Linked DNA regions of Homo sapiens: all the other regions are linked to region 1. The links are contacts of gene promoters, found by promoter capture Hi-C in human tissues and cell types (Jung and others, 2019). All regions are on one chromosome and are shown on one strand. The core of a region is centred on a gene start or on the middle of the fragment in contact, and the rest is flanking DNA. Distances in the headings are between cores, read along the strand shown.

The links. Contacts are between HindIII fragments. The study calls those that stand out against the background at their distance.
Region 2: a contact is called between a fragment that was not itself captured here and the fragment with the promoter of CASP10 in region 1, in 1 of the 25 tissues and cell types used here (H1 embryonic stem cells).
Region 3: a contact is called between a fragment that was not itself captured here and the fragment with the promoter of CASP10 in region 1, in 2 of the 25 tissues and cell types used here (heart left ventricle and lymphoblastoid cells).

The regions. Positions count from the first base shown.
Region 1 is chr2:201,180,667-201,184,964 of GRCh38, forward strand. CASP10 (caspase 10) reads left to right here and starts at 2,475. Exons shown (of 10, transcript NM_032977.4): 1 at 2,475-2,642. The HindIII fragment of the contact is 16,206 bases long and covers 1-3,739 here.
Region 2 is chr2:200,854,025-200,858,322 of GRCh38, forward strand. CLK1 (CDC like kinase 1) reads right to left here. Exons shown (of 13, transcript NM_004071.4): 6 at 3,949-4,065; 7 at 3,694-3,860; 8 at 2,867-2,961; 9 at 2,658-2,787; 10 at 980-1,062; 11 at 592-671. Among named protein-coding and RNA genes, the nearest start is that of CLK1, 8.5 kb to the right of the region's middle. The HindIII fragment of the contact is 5,508 bases long and covers 1-4,298 here.
Region 3 is chr2:200,922,199-200,926,496 of GRCh38, forward strand. ORC2 (origin recognition complex subunit 2) reads right to left here. Exons shown (of 18, transcript NM_006190.5): 13 at 3,638-3,734. Among named protein-coding and RNA genes, the nearest start is that of NIF3L1, 35 kb to the left of the region's middle. The HindIII fragment of the contact is 4,547 bases long and covers 1-4,230 here.

The sequences.
Region 1 (4,298 bases), core at 1,225-3,724:
TAATGCCAGCTAAGGCTGGGAGTTGTTATGAGTTCATCAGAGAAGTTTAGAAATGGTAGTACCGGTCGCCATAGTTACTATGGAAAGCAGGTCACTTTGCTTTCCAATTGTGCCCAATTCAGGGCTTTGAATTGCCTGCTAAATATTTAATATTATTGAATCAAAGTTGAAAGAGTTAATATACTTTATGAACAGAGTGAGAGAAAGTGATAGTTTCAATAAGTTGCCTCCCTAAATGGCCCAATAAATTTAATATTTATAATAAAACAACTAAATAGAAGACCAAGACTTACGGCTTGTCTTTCTTCCTTTTTAAGTTATTTTCCAGAAAATAATATTTATATTTTAAGTTAAAGTAACTGCAAATTGGAAACCACAGGGGGAGCCCCAGGCTGGGACAAATAATGACTAGCCTGGTCCCAACAGAACAGGCAAAGAAGGTGGTCCCTACACTCTTTATGGTCAGTTGGGGCCCCCTCCTCACTCTGCTGCAGCATTCTAGGGTCAGGGCCCCACCTTCCCTGGAACTGGGGTAGTGAGTAACCCAGCCTGCTGTGCTCCGGCCCCCCTTTCCCAAGAAGGTTTTTTTTTTTTTTTTTTTTGAGAGAGTCTTTCTCTGTCGCCCAGGCTGGAGTGCAATGGCACGATTTTGGCTCACTGCAACCTCTGCCTCCCGGGTTCAAGCGATTCTCCAGCCTCAGCCTCCTAGTAGCTGGGATTACAGGCATGTGCCACCAAGCCTGGCGAATTTTATGTTTTTAGTTGAGATGTGGTTTCACCATGATGGCCAGGCTGGTCTTGAACTCCTGACCTCAAGCAATCTGCCCACCTCAGCCTCCCAAAGTGCTGGGATTACAGGTGTGAGCCACTGTGCCTGGCCAGGACTTGTCTTTTTCTTTTCTTTTTTTTTTTGAGAAGGAGTCTTGCTCTGTAGCCCAGGCTGGAGTGTGATGGCGTGATATCCGCTCACCGCAACCTCCACCTCCTGCCTTCAAGCGATTATCCTGCCTCAACCTCCCGAGCAGCTAGGATTACAGGTGTGTGCCACCACGCCCAGCTAATTTTTTGTATTTGTAGTAGAGACAGCGTTTCACCATCTTGGCCAAGCTGGTCTCGTGATCCGCCTGCCTCAGCCTCCCAAAGTGCTGGGATTACAGGCGGGAGCCACTGCACCTGGCCCCAGGACTTGTCTTTCTTAAGCACAGAAGTTCTCTGAATGATGCCTAGGACATGGAAAGGACATTTTAATACATTTGCTAATCAAAGCATCATAAATCTTGCTTTTTTTCCCCATAGATAAAACATCTTTCTAAGACTCTGTACCTCTTTCCAGAGTGCTGCACATTTGAGTTAGCTTAATTATAGTGTAGTGACTTTGATCCAAACTTGCTGGTTTAAATCTTGGCTCTTCCAGCCGCTCACTGTGTGACCTTGGGCAAATTAATTAACCTTTCTGTGCCTTAGTTTTCACATGTTAAAGCAGCAGTCATAGTAATAGTATTTATCTTACAGTGTTGTTGGGATGGTGAAATGAGTAAATATTTGTAAATGCCCTGGCACATGGTAGTTGCAATATTAGTGTGCAGTATTGTTTTTATGATTAGAAATAATGTCTTCAAAGTCTCACTTTCCTGCTGGTTTGAATGTGCTGTGAGAACACATACTGTCAGTTTTGCCTACCACAAATTTGTTGAGTCTCTTGCAGGTACCTCCAAATGGGCTTGTAATTCACCATCCCCACTTTTCTTTTTTTTTTCCTTTCTTTTTCTTTTTATTTCTTAATTTCTCCCACAAAGACTGAAAGTGAATCCCCACTTTTCTTTTATCTTTTAAAAATTTTATTTGTGGGCCGGGCACGGTGGCTCCATGCCTGTAATCCCAGCACTTTGGGAGGCCAAGGAGGGTGGATCACAAGCTCAGGAGTTCGAGACCAGCCTGGCCAACATGGTGAAACCTCGTCTCTACTAAAAATACAAAAAATTAGCCGGGCGTGGTGGCGCATGCTTGTAATCCCAGCTACTCGGGAGGTTGAGGCAGGAGAATCACTTGAACACAGGAGGCAGAGGTTGCGGTAAGTGGAGATCGCTCCATTGTTTATTTGCATGTGGACATAAGAAAGGGTTAACATGGCCGACAACTATTTCATGAGCTTTTTGGCTTTATTTGAAAAGTGAAGTGTGTTTGGGGAAGGAGTTGGTTAGGAAAACAGATGCTTCCCTTTTTGACTTACCAAGGAAATGGAGATCCAAAGGAAAGCCTGAAGCACTTTGTGGCTTCCACGGGTTCGTTTCTAGGAAGCTTTTGCTTTACCTGGGGAAACCCCAAGCTCTACAGTGAGAAAGTTGTAAATTAGCCTTTAGGAGACGCTGTTTGTCAAAGTTATCTTAACCCTGGAAAAGGGGAGGGAAAAAGGCAGATAAGCAGTGATGACATCAGCAGGAAACTAGTATCAGGCTACCCAGTCCTGAAGATTCAGTTTTCACTTAAACAACCAGCAAGTCTTGAAGTCTCTTCCCAAGCAAATGGGAGCTTCTTTGGACCTTGGAGCACACAGAGGATTCTACTTTCTTTAAAACTTTGTTTTCAGGCAATTTCCCTGAGAACCGTTTACTTCCAGAAGATTGGTGGAGCTTGATCTGAAGGTATGTAATTAACAACCCTTCTTACTCCAGAGTCTCATGCTTGAATCTTTTCCTTTGCTTCATGGCTTCGTGTTGTAGAAACTTGCAAAAACTTGTCAGCAATGGCACTATTTTTTCTTAGATTTCTTTGTCATGCCTGGGAAAACAAAAGTTAAAAAATCCGGAAGCCTCCAACATAGCCTTTTACCGGGGCAGAAATATGTTAGCTCACAGAGACAAAGTTTGGTAGACTCACTAAAACTAGAGATCAGAATTGTCAAGAAACCACAAGGCAAATGCTAGATGCGGTAGAATAGAAAGGTGTCTCCAATAAACCACTCATTTGACCTCAGGGCTAGTAGCAGGGAAGATCCCCTGGATTATCACATTAAAAATGACATTTTTTTGTTTCTTTTAACACCAAAAGTAATGTGTATGCTCACATATGCATAAAATTTGAGAAATTCAATTGGAAGCCCAGAAGGAAATTTGTATTATCTATAGTTATGTCACCTCGATATAACCACTGTTTGTTATGGAGGTTTTGATTTTTGCTGTGTCTTCCTTCCTTTATTTATTTATTTATTTATTTATTTATTTATCTATTTATTTATTTGAGACGGAGTCTCCCTCTTTCACCCTCCAGCACTCAAGCTGGAGTGCAGTGGCACAATCTTGGCTTACTGCAACTTCCGCCTCCCAGGTTCAAGCAATCCTCCCATCTCAGCTTCCTATGAAGCTGGGACCACAGGCATACACCACCAAGCCCAGCTAATTTTTGTATTTTTTGTAGAGACGGGGTTTCACCGTGTTGCCCAGGCTTGTCCCGAATTCCTGGCCTCACAGTGATCCACCTGCCTCAGTCTCCTGAAGTGCTTCTCTGATTATAATGAAATTTAGTATGTAGAATACCATAGTTTATAGACTAGTCAGATGGAAACATTGACTCATGTAATTTTTATCTTCCTTCGCTGATTTGAGCAACTCTTGTCTAAAATCACCCTTTCCTTCTGAGGTCTAGGAGGTTTTTTTGTTGTTGTTTTGTTTTGTTTTTGAGGCAGGGTCTTGCTCTGTCACCCAGGGTGGAGTGCAGTGGCACAATCATGGCTCACTGGAACCTCCATCCCCGGGGCTCAAATGATCCTTCTGCTTCAGCCCTCTGAGTAGTTGGGACCACAGGCGTGCACCACCATGCCTGGCTAATTTTTGTATTTTTTGTAGAGATGGGGTTTTACCACGTTGCCCAGTCTGGTCTTGAACTCCTGGCCTCAAGTGATCCACCCGCCTTGGCCTCCCAAAGTGCTGGGATTATAGGCGTAAGCCATGACACCCCACCTGTTCCTTCCTTTATAAAGTATTTTCTTGTTTCTAAAAATAGCCAAGTTCTGCATATTGACTACATACCTCAAGTGCTTATAGAATAAATAGTATTACAATGAAAATTTTATCACTGCATTGCTCCTCTGATTATGATGAAATTTAGTATAGAGAATAGCATAGTTTATAAACTGATCAGATGGAAACATTGACTCATGTAATTTGTTTTTTTTTAGTGAAAACAAGTTTATTAGAGAAGTAAAGAAACAAAAGAATGGCTACTCCATAGACAGAGCAGCCGACTCATGTAATTTTTAACTTCCTACACTGATTTGAGCAACTCTTGTCTAAAACCACCCT
Region 2 (4,298 bases), core at 712-3,211, 330 kb before region 1:
TAACACTGAAAACTTAAAACAGCTAGCAAAGGTATCAATTACTATGCTTTCCCAGATCACTTTTCTAGAGATTTAAATGGCAGCCATGGGATAGAAATGTTACCTGCTTTGCACCAAGGTAATCTACTATTTAACTGAAAAAATATTAGTTTGACTTCATTATTTATAAAGTCCTAATCAGCGCCTGAGACTTGGTAGAGTGAAAATTTAAAAAAAAAAATTAAGTTCTGGCCAGGTGCGGTGGCTCACGCCTGTAATCTCAGCACTTTGGGAGGCCGAGGTGGGCGGATCACAAGGTCAGGAGATCGAGACCATCCTGGCTAACATGGTGAAACCTTGTCTCTACTAAAAATACAAAAAAATTAGGCGGGCGTGGTGGCGAGTGCCTGTAGTCCCAGCTACTCGGGAGGCTGAGACAGGAAAATGGCGTGAACCCAGGAGGGAGAGCTTGCATTGAGCCGAGGTCACGCCACTGCACTCCAGCCTGGGCAACAGAGCAAGACTCCATCTCAAAAAAAAAAAAAAAATTAAGTTCTAATCAGCAGATGTGATCAAATGATACTAAGGATGTCACTAACTCTTAAAACGTACCTGGTTTTCTGTATCATATGTTTTGGTAGAGGTCCAAGAATCCTTTCCATCATTGCTAAATGCTCCTTACTATCGTGTGTCTAGAAATAAAATAAAAACAGACTTGGGGAAGATGACCACCAAAACAGACACAGTTAAAGCTGACAGCAAAAAAACTAACATTAAGGCTTGCAGAACAAACTCGCCAATGATTCCCTACATGGACACGGATAATTGCTTATATACTGAAAGATGTTTTAAATAAAACAATTATGAAAGAAATATGAATTAGTTTATTTATGCTTATCTACAATTAATAGTCTATAATGGGGGAAGCAAAAGTATTTATTCATATAAACAGGCACCTTTCTTGTGCAAAGCAAGGTTGAAATAGATCATTGTCACTTACTGGAAATACGGTAAACCCAAGATAGTATTCAATAAGAATGCATCCTATGCTCCAGACATCACATGGTTGGGACCACCCTAGGGCTGCAAAGCAAAGCAAAATTTAAGGAAAAAAAATACTCAATGTTTGTTAAAGAAATTAAAAAGTTAGTTAACACTAATACTTTAAAAAAAAAAACACATGTAATGTAGGCTGGGCACAGTGGCTCACACCTGTAATCCCAGCACTTTGGGAGGCCAAGATGGGAGAACTGCTTGAGCTCAGGAGTTCAAGACCAGCCTGGGCAACACAGCGAGATCCCACCTCTATTAAGATATATATATATCTGAATTGGCCGGGCACAGTGGCTCACGCTACAGGCATAATCCCAGCCCTTTGGGAGGCTGAGGCAGGTGGAACACGAGGGCAGGAGATCAAGACCATCCTGACTACACGGTGAAACTCCGTCTCTACTAAAAATACAAAAACAAAATTAGCCAGGCATGGTGGCAGGCACCTGTAGTCCCAGCTACTCAGGAGGCTGAGGTGGGACAATGGAGTGAACCCCATAGGCGGAGCTTGCGGTGAGCCGAGATCGCGCCACTGCACTCTAGCCTGGGTGACAGAGCAAGACTCCGCCCCCCCCCCAAAAAATTATATATATACACATATATATGCAATGTGATGTTTGAGCTGGAAGATCCTAAAGCAATCACTTAATCCAAGGTTAAATACAATATATATGGCCGGGCGCAGTGGCTTATGCCTGTAATCCCAGCACTTTGCAAAGCCAAGGCAGGCAGATTGCTCCAGGTCAGCAGTTTGAGACCAGCCTGCCAACATGGTAAAAACCCCATCTCTACCAAAAATAAGAAAATTAACCGGGTGTGGTGGTGGGTGCCTATAATCCCAGCTACTCAGGAGGCTGAGGCAGGAGAATTGCTTGAACCCAGGAGGCAGAAGTTGCAGTGAGCCAAGATTGCACCACTGCACTCCAGCCTGGGCGACAGAGTAAGTCTCCGTCTAAAAAATAAATAAATGATAAAAATAAATAAATTATATAGTGTTATATATAGTCTGGAATAAAATAGGCATTAAACAATTTTCTGAGATGGAGTCTCGCTCTGTCGCCCAGGCCGGAGTGCAGTGGCGCAATCTTGGCTCACTGCAACCTCCGCCTCCCGGTGTTCAAGCAATTCTGCCTCAGCCTCCTGAGTAGCTGGAACTACTGACGTGTACCACCACACCCAGCTAATTTTTTGTATTTTTAGTAGAGATGGGGTTTCACCATATTAGCCAGGATGGTCTCGATTTCCTGACCATGTGGTCTGCCCGCCTTGGCCTCCCAAAGTGCTGGGATTACAGATGTGAGCCACCGCGCCCCACCCTTGGCCTCCCAAAGTGCTGAGATTACAGATGTGAGCCACCGCGCCCCACCTGGCATTAAACAATTACATTTAAAAACCCTACCACATATTACAAATGTGAAAACAATTCCAGAAAGGTTAAGCCACTTGCTCAAATTCCCAGAGCTAATTATCTGGTACAATTGAGAGCTTAAAATCCATAATGCACTTCATGATACTTATCCCTTAAAGAGAATATGATAAAGCCCCACAAGTAAGACCTAAAACTGCTAAAAAAATTTTAAGTCTCAATAAGGAAATACAAAGGTTCTCAAAGGACAATTAATACTCACCTAAAATAACTTCAGGTGCTCTATAATGTCTTGTAGATACCAATGTACTGTGATGTTCGTCATCATATGTTGCACTACCAAAGTCTACAACTTTAATATCTGGATTTATTAAGGTGCGTTCATCACGTTTCTGAAAATCATAAATGATGGTTAAGAAGGCATAAGCTATTAAGGCATAAGATACTTTATGAATATTTTGGAAGACTTACTATTTTGGGATTATACGCCTCTGTGTAGTCAGACTGCACAAATAAGATGTTTTCAGGCTTTAAGTCTGTGTGAGTCAACTTATTACTGTGCAAAACTGAGAATAAAGAGAAAGTTGCTGTAATCAGAAAACACCAAACCAAACCAAATCACAAAACCCCACAACAGGCCGGGTGCAGTGGCTCACGCCTGTAATCACCTGAGGTCAGGAGTTCGAGACCAGCCTGACCAATATGGTGAAACCCTGTCTCTACCAAAATTACAAAAATTGGCCGGGTGTGGTGGCGTGTGCCTGTAGTCCTAGCTACTCGGGAGGCTGAGGCAGGAGAATCACTTGAACTGGGGAGGCAGAGTTTGCAGTGAGTGAAGACTGCGCCACTGCACTTCAGCCTGAACAACAAAGCGAGACTCCATTTCAAAAAACAAAAAAACCCAACAAAAAACCTCTGATTCCTTTCCCAAAGAATGGTCAACATTCCAGTCTGCTAGAAAATCACCAGTAACTAAAACTTACTACCTCTTATGAAGCTTTCTTTTATGAGATATATCACGCCTTAATTTTTACCCAGCATTCGAAGTTACTATTTTTGCGCATCAGAAAAGTCTAAATCATAGTCTGCAACAAAGTACGTTGTTATATGGTGGATATCCTACTTGCTGAATGAAATGTACACTGCTGGATCAACAGCCTGTAATCAAATCTCTTCATACCTATTCTTCCTCCCCCTTTATTTTTAATCAAATAAAAATTGTACACACTTAGGATGCACATTTTGATATGTGGAATGGATAAAACCAGCAAATTAACGAAGATATACCAAGAACTTACAATTCACAGACTTGCATATCTGATATGCCATCTTTCTGATATGATCCAGTCGAAATGGTAGAAAACCATTTTCTTTAATGAAGTCGTAAGTACTAAGTCCCAATAGTTCAAAAACAATGCAAATGTGACCATGATGCTCAAACCATTCCAACATCTGGACACAGCGGCTACAAACACATGAAAAATAGCTAAGTATAGTTGCTCCTAATTTAAATATACCTGATACCACTTCCCAAGTTCTAATCTGATACTTACAAAGTACTGTTGGGGTCTGTTGTATTCAGATGTTCCAGAACTTGTATTTCTGAGCGAGCAGCTTCACAGTATCTATCCACATTTTTAACTATTTTTACTGCTACATGTCTACCTCCCCTGTTAGAAAGATGCATGCAAATTTAAGAATGACAGACATGATGCTCAATTCCAGGTATTACTGTCTTCAAACTGTACTACTACTCTGACCCACTGTATTTTTTTAATTTATGGTTTAGTGTTCAGTTCTGATTCTATTACATGCTGAATGACACAAATTTCTTTCATCAAACCACCACTCACATGAGTTATTTTTTGGTATTTCAGCTAAACAACTTCTTCCTATATGGTAC
Region 3 (4,298 bases), core at 707-3,206, 260 kb before region 1:
AATTATAAAAGTCAGTGAAGGAGGAATTTAGAGGATGGAGCTGTTGACACTATCAAATACAGCAGAGATCAAGATAAAGGATGAGCCAAGGTCACTGGGCTTGGTAAGAAGAAAGTTACAGGTGATCAAGCATACAGTTCTGATAGCACAGAGGAAAGACATTAGAATGAAATAGGTAAAAAAAAAAAAAAAAAAAATTGAAGGCAGGACATGTCTTCCAAAATACTGAAACCGTATGAAACAGAAAAATAAAATAGTGTGAAAGGGCAGCAGAATCAGGTAACTTTTATTTTTAATGTATATTTAAAAGCCACAGGTATTGATAAGTCTCTCTGGAGACTTGGCATACGTGATAGAGTATAAGTCTTTCAGAGAGTGAGTTAATTTCTCTTCTACTCGGGGGTAGATGGGTAAGAGAGACAATACAGTGACAAAGATTCTGAGATGACACATTGTGAAAATCCCAGGTTCCCTGAAATCTAGACGTCATCATATTTAACAGTATCAAAACCAAAAACACCCAAAACCAAACGTATGTATACACACAGACGCACACAAATATAAAGTGACTTAGGCATCTATTTTAATGAGCATACGAACAATACTGGGCTCTTACAAGGATCTGTGGTAAGGGAATAAAAAGCAATGCTTCTGTTATTCTTTAAGTAGGAGAACTTATGTTGAAAACTAAAGACAATTCAGAAAAACAAGGCAAAATTATTATAGGAATAAATATTGCAGCAATTGATTTTTAATTAAATAATAAGGTTGAAAGAACTGAAAACAAACCAAACAGATTTGTTTCTCTTACAATAACCTGCTAGTAATTCACTATATGCCCACATAATCAATGAATAAGATATGTTCACATATGCAGTAGTTTTAGGGTTCTGGGAAATATATACTTGACTCTCATTACATTAAGTTCTATGCTGCTGCAAATCCTGAATTATTGAATACTGAACCACTGTTCCCAGAGGAAATACAGGGTTAGGTTCAATATATAACTTTGTTTTATGTGTGTTTCTGTTTAAAGGCAATTTTATTTTTATTTATTTACTCTTTTTGGAGACGGAGTCTCGCTCTGTTGCCCAGGCTGGAGTGCAGTGATGTGATCTTGGCTCACTGCAACCTCCAACTCCCAGGTTCAAGCGATTCTCCTGTCTCAGCCTCCCGACTAGCTGGGATTACAGGTGCGCACCACCAGGACCGGCTAGTTTTTTGTATTTTTTGTCGAGACAGGGTTTCACCATGTTGCCCAGGCTGGTCTCAAACTCCTAACCTCAAGTGATCCACCTGCCTCGGCCTCCCAAAGTGAAGGGATTGCAGGTGTGAGCCACCGCATCCGGCTTAAGGGCAACTTTATTTTTAATATACACTGTTGGTCTATTAACACGGAACTCACAGTCAAGAACACTGTAACTCATAACTGAAGGAAGTTTATATACACAGGTATTTTTTCCCCAAGGCACATCACAGCCTTCTTGTGCTTGGGAACACTAGATAGCATTTTAACACTATGCTTGCGGGCCATTTTAAACAGCCAAATCACCAACAAAAAAGCAGAAAAATGTGAAAAACGTAGCACTGAACAGACTGTGAAAACGATGCTTGTTTATAGTATGAGAGTTGAAACAAGAAGGCAAAGCATTGCCTTGTTTGACCTCGGCTTAGAATATGTACATTGGGCAATGCAAACTTTTTGCCACTCTGTGCCATGTTTCACTTTGCAAAAGTACCAAGAATATTGATTTTGGGATTATAAATAAATGTTAGCAAGCAGGTAAATTTGCTATTATAGAATTTGTGAATAATGAGAATCAACTCTACCTGTTTTCAAATGTGTAGAGTTGGTATAAAAATGTATATTGTCTGGCTGGGCTCATGCCTGTAATCCCAGCACTTTGGAAGGCCCAGGCAGGAGTATCCCTTGAGGCCTAGGAGTTTGAGACCAGCCTGGGCAACACAGTGAGACTCCATCTCTACAAAAAATTTTAACAATAGCCAGGCAGGTGATATGTGCCTGTAGTCCCAGCTAATGGGGAGGCTGAGTTGGGTGGATCACTTGGGCCCAGGAGATTTAGGATGTAGTGAGCTGTGTTTGTGCCACTGGACTCCAGCCTGGGTGAGAGAGCAAGACTGTGTTAAAAAAAAAAAGTATACGGTCCATTTCTATAAAGAACTGTGGATAAAATGGGTGTAGGAGTGTGAAAGGAAATTTGGGACAGAAAGCTTTTCAGGTTGGAAACAAAATGAAGACAAAACTAAAGAACATGCTAGAATATTGACAAGATAAAAGTACTACGGAACAGAGCTAAGATTATTGTCATTATCAAAAAAATTATCCATCAAAGCAGTTAGGCATTCTCAATTACTTCTCTTAATTCTTAATTTAGTCATTACTAAATGGCAATTAACTGTTAGAGACTATATAATACTATTTCCAATTTTCTGACATACTCACATAACCAAAACATTCACACCAAAAGAATCAAGAGATCTTAGTATATAAAATTATCTCAATGTAATGATATGTACACAGAATAAAGAAATAATGTTTTATTTATTTATTTATTTTTAGATAGAGTCTCACTCTATCACCCAGGGTGGAGTGCAGTGGTATGATCTTGGCTCACTGCAATCTCTGCCTCCCGGGCTCAAGCAATTCTCCTGCCTCACCCTCCCAAGTAGCTGGGACTACAGGCATGTGCCACCACGCCTGGCTAATTTTTTTGTATTTTTGTAGAGATGGGGTTTCACCATATTGGCCAGGCTGGTCTCGAACTCCTGACCTCAGGTGACCCACTGAGCTCGGCCTCCCAAAGTGCTGGGATTACAGGCGTCAGCCACTGCGCCCAGCCAAGAAATAATGTTTTATAAAAACATTAAACAATATAAAAATATCAGACAAACTTGTACCACTCAAGTGGAGGCACTTTACACAAGCAAAACAAAACCTGAAAATTATTCTGAAATAAATTCGCTGGGCTTGGTGGTGCACGCCTGTAATCCCAGCTACTTGAGAGGCTGAGGCAGGAGAATTGCTTGAACCCGGGAGGCGGAGGTTGCAGTGAGCCAAAATCGTGCCACTGCACTTTTGGAGTGTTTTATAAACAGAAACAGGCTTTTGGATATACAAACTTAAGAAAGTGGGACTAACATTTTTCTTTCCTGTTAAGTTCACGGAAAAAGTTCATAGAAAAAGGACAAACTTTTTTAGAGCACCAAGATAAATGCCATTATTAAAATAATCTTTTTGGGCCAGGTGTGGTGGCTCACACCTATAATCTCAGCCCTTTGGGAGGCCAAGGCAGGAGGACTGCTTGAGCCCAGAAGTTCAAGACTATCCTGGGCAACATAGCGAGACCTCATCTCTACAAATAATAAAAAATTAGCCAGGCATAATGGCACACGCCTGTGATCTGAGCTACCTGGGAGGCTGAAGTGGGAGAATTGCTTGAGCCCAGAAGGTCAAGGCTGCAGTGAGCCATGATCGCACCACTGCACTCCAGGCTGGGCAACAGAGAGACTGTCTCAAAAATAATAATAATAATATTGTATGTATATAAATACATGAATAAGTAGAAGTATATGCTTAACTTTACTCTAAAACTACCGAGCATCTACTTCATGTTACCTTCTTTAAATTTGTTTACTATCCAGTCTAGCTGATCCAGTATACTGCGGAAAGTACCCATATGATCGAGGACTTCTTCTGTTATAGAATTCAGGACCTATATCATGAATGTGGAAGAGGTACCACATTAATTACAATTTATTGTCATATACAACTAGAAAATCAAACCTTTTTTTATAAATTAAAAATGAATTTGGATTTCCCAAAAGTTTAAAAAATAACTTTTAAAAATTCTACTGGTACTTGAGTATATCTAATTCATTGTTTTTTGCCTAAGTTGTGGCTAAAAGAAAACAGAAAAGAATAGCAAAGATGTACAGGTAATAGGTAATATAAGAGGGCAGCAAAAACAAATGAAAAAGCTCCCAAGAACATGAGAAACATTAGAAAACTACAGTTCTATCAAAGGAAACAGGACACAAACACTACAGACACTTTAAAAAAGGAATACTATATGGCTCAATATCCAGCACCCAAAAGATTTCATGTTCAAATGATGAAGAGATATTAAGCATTTGAAATAAAAATGATCTATGATAAATGTATTGTTAAACTACAGTCTTCACATCACATCCTGTTGCATTTTAAAGCATTTTCACAGCATGTAGTTTTTGCCTAATAAAGCATTTTCATAGTTTATAACAAAACTGAAGACCCCATA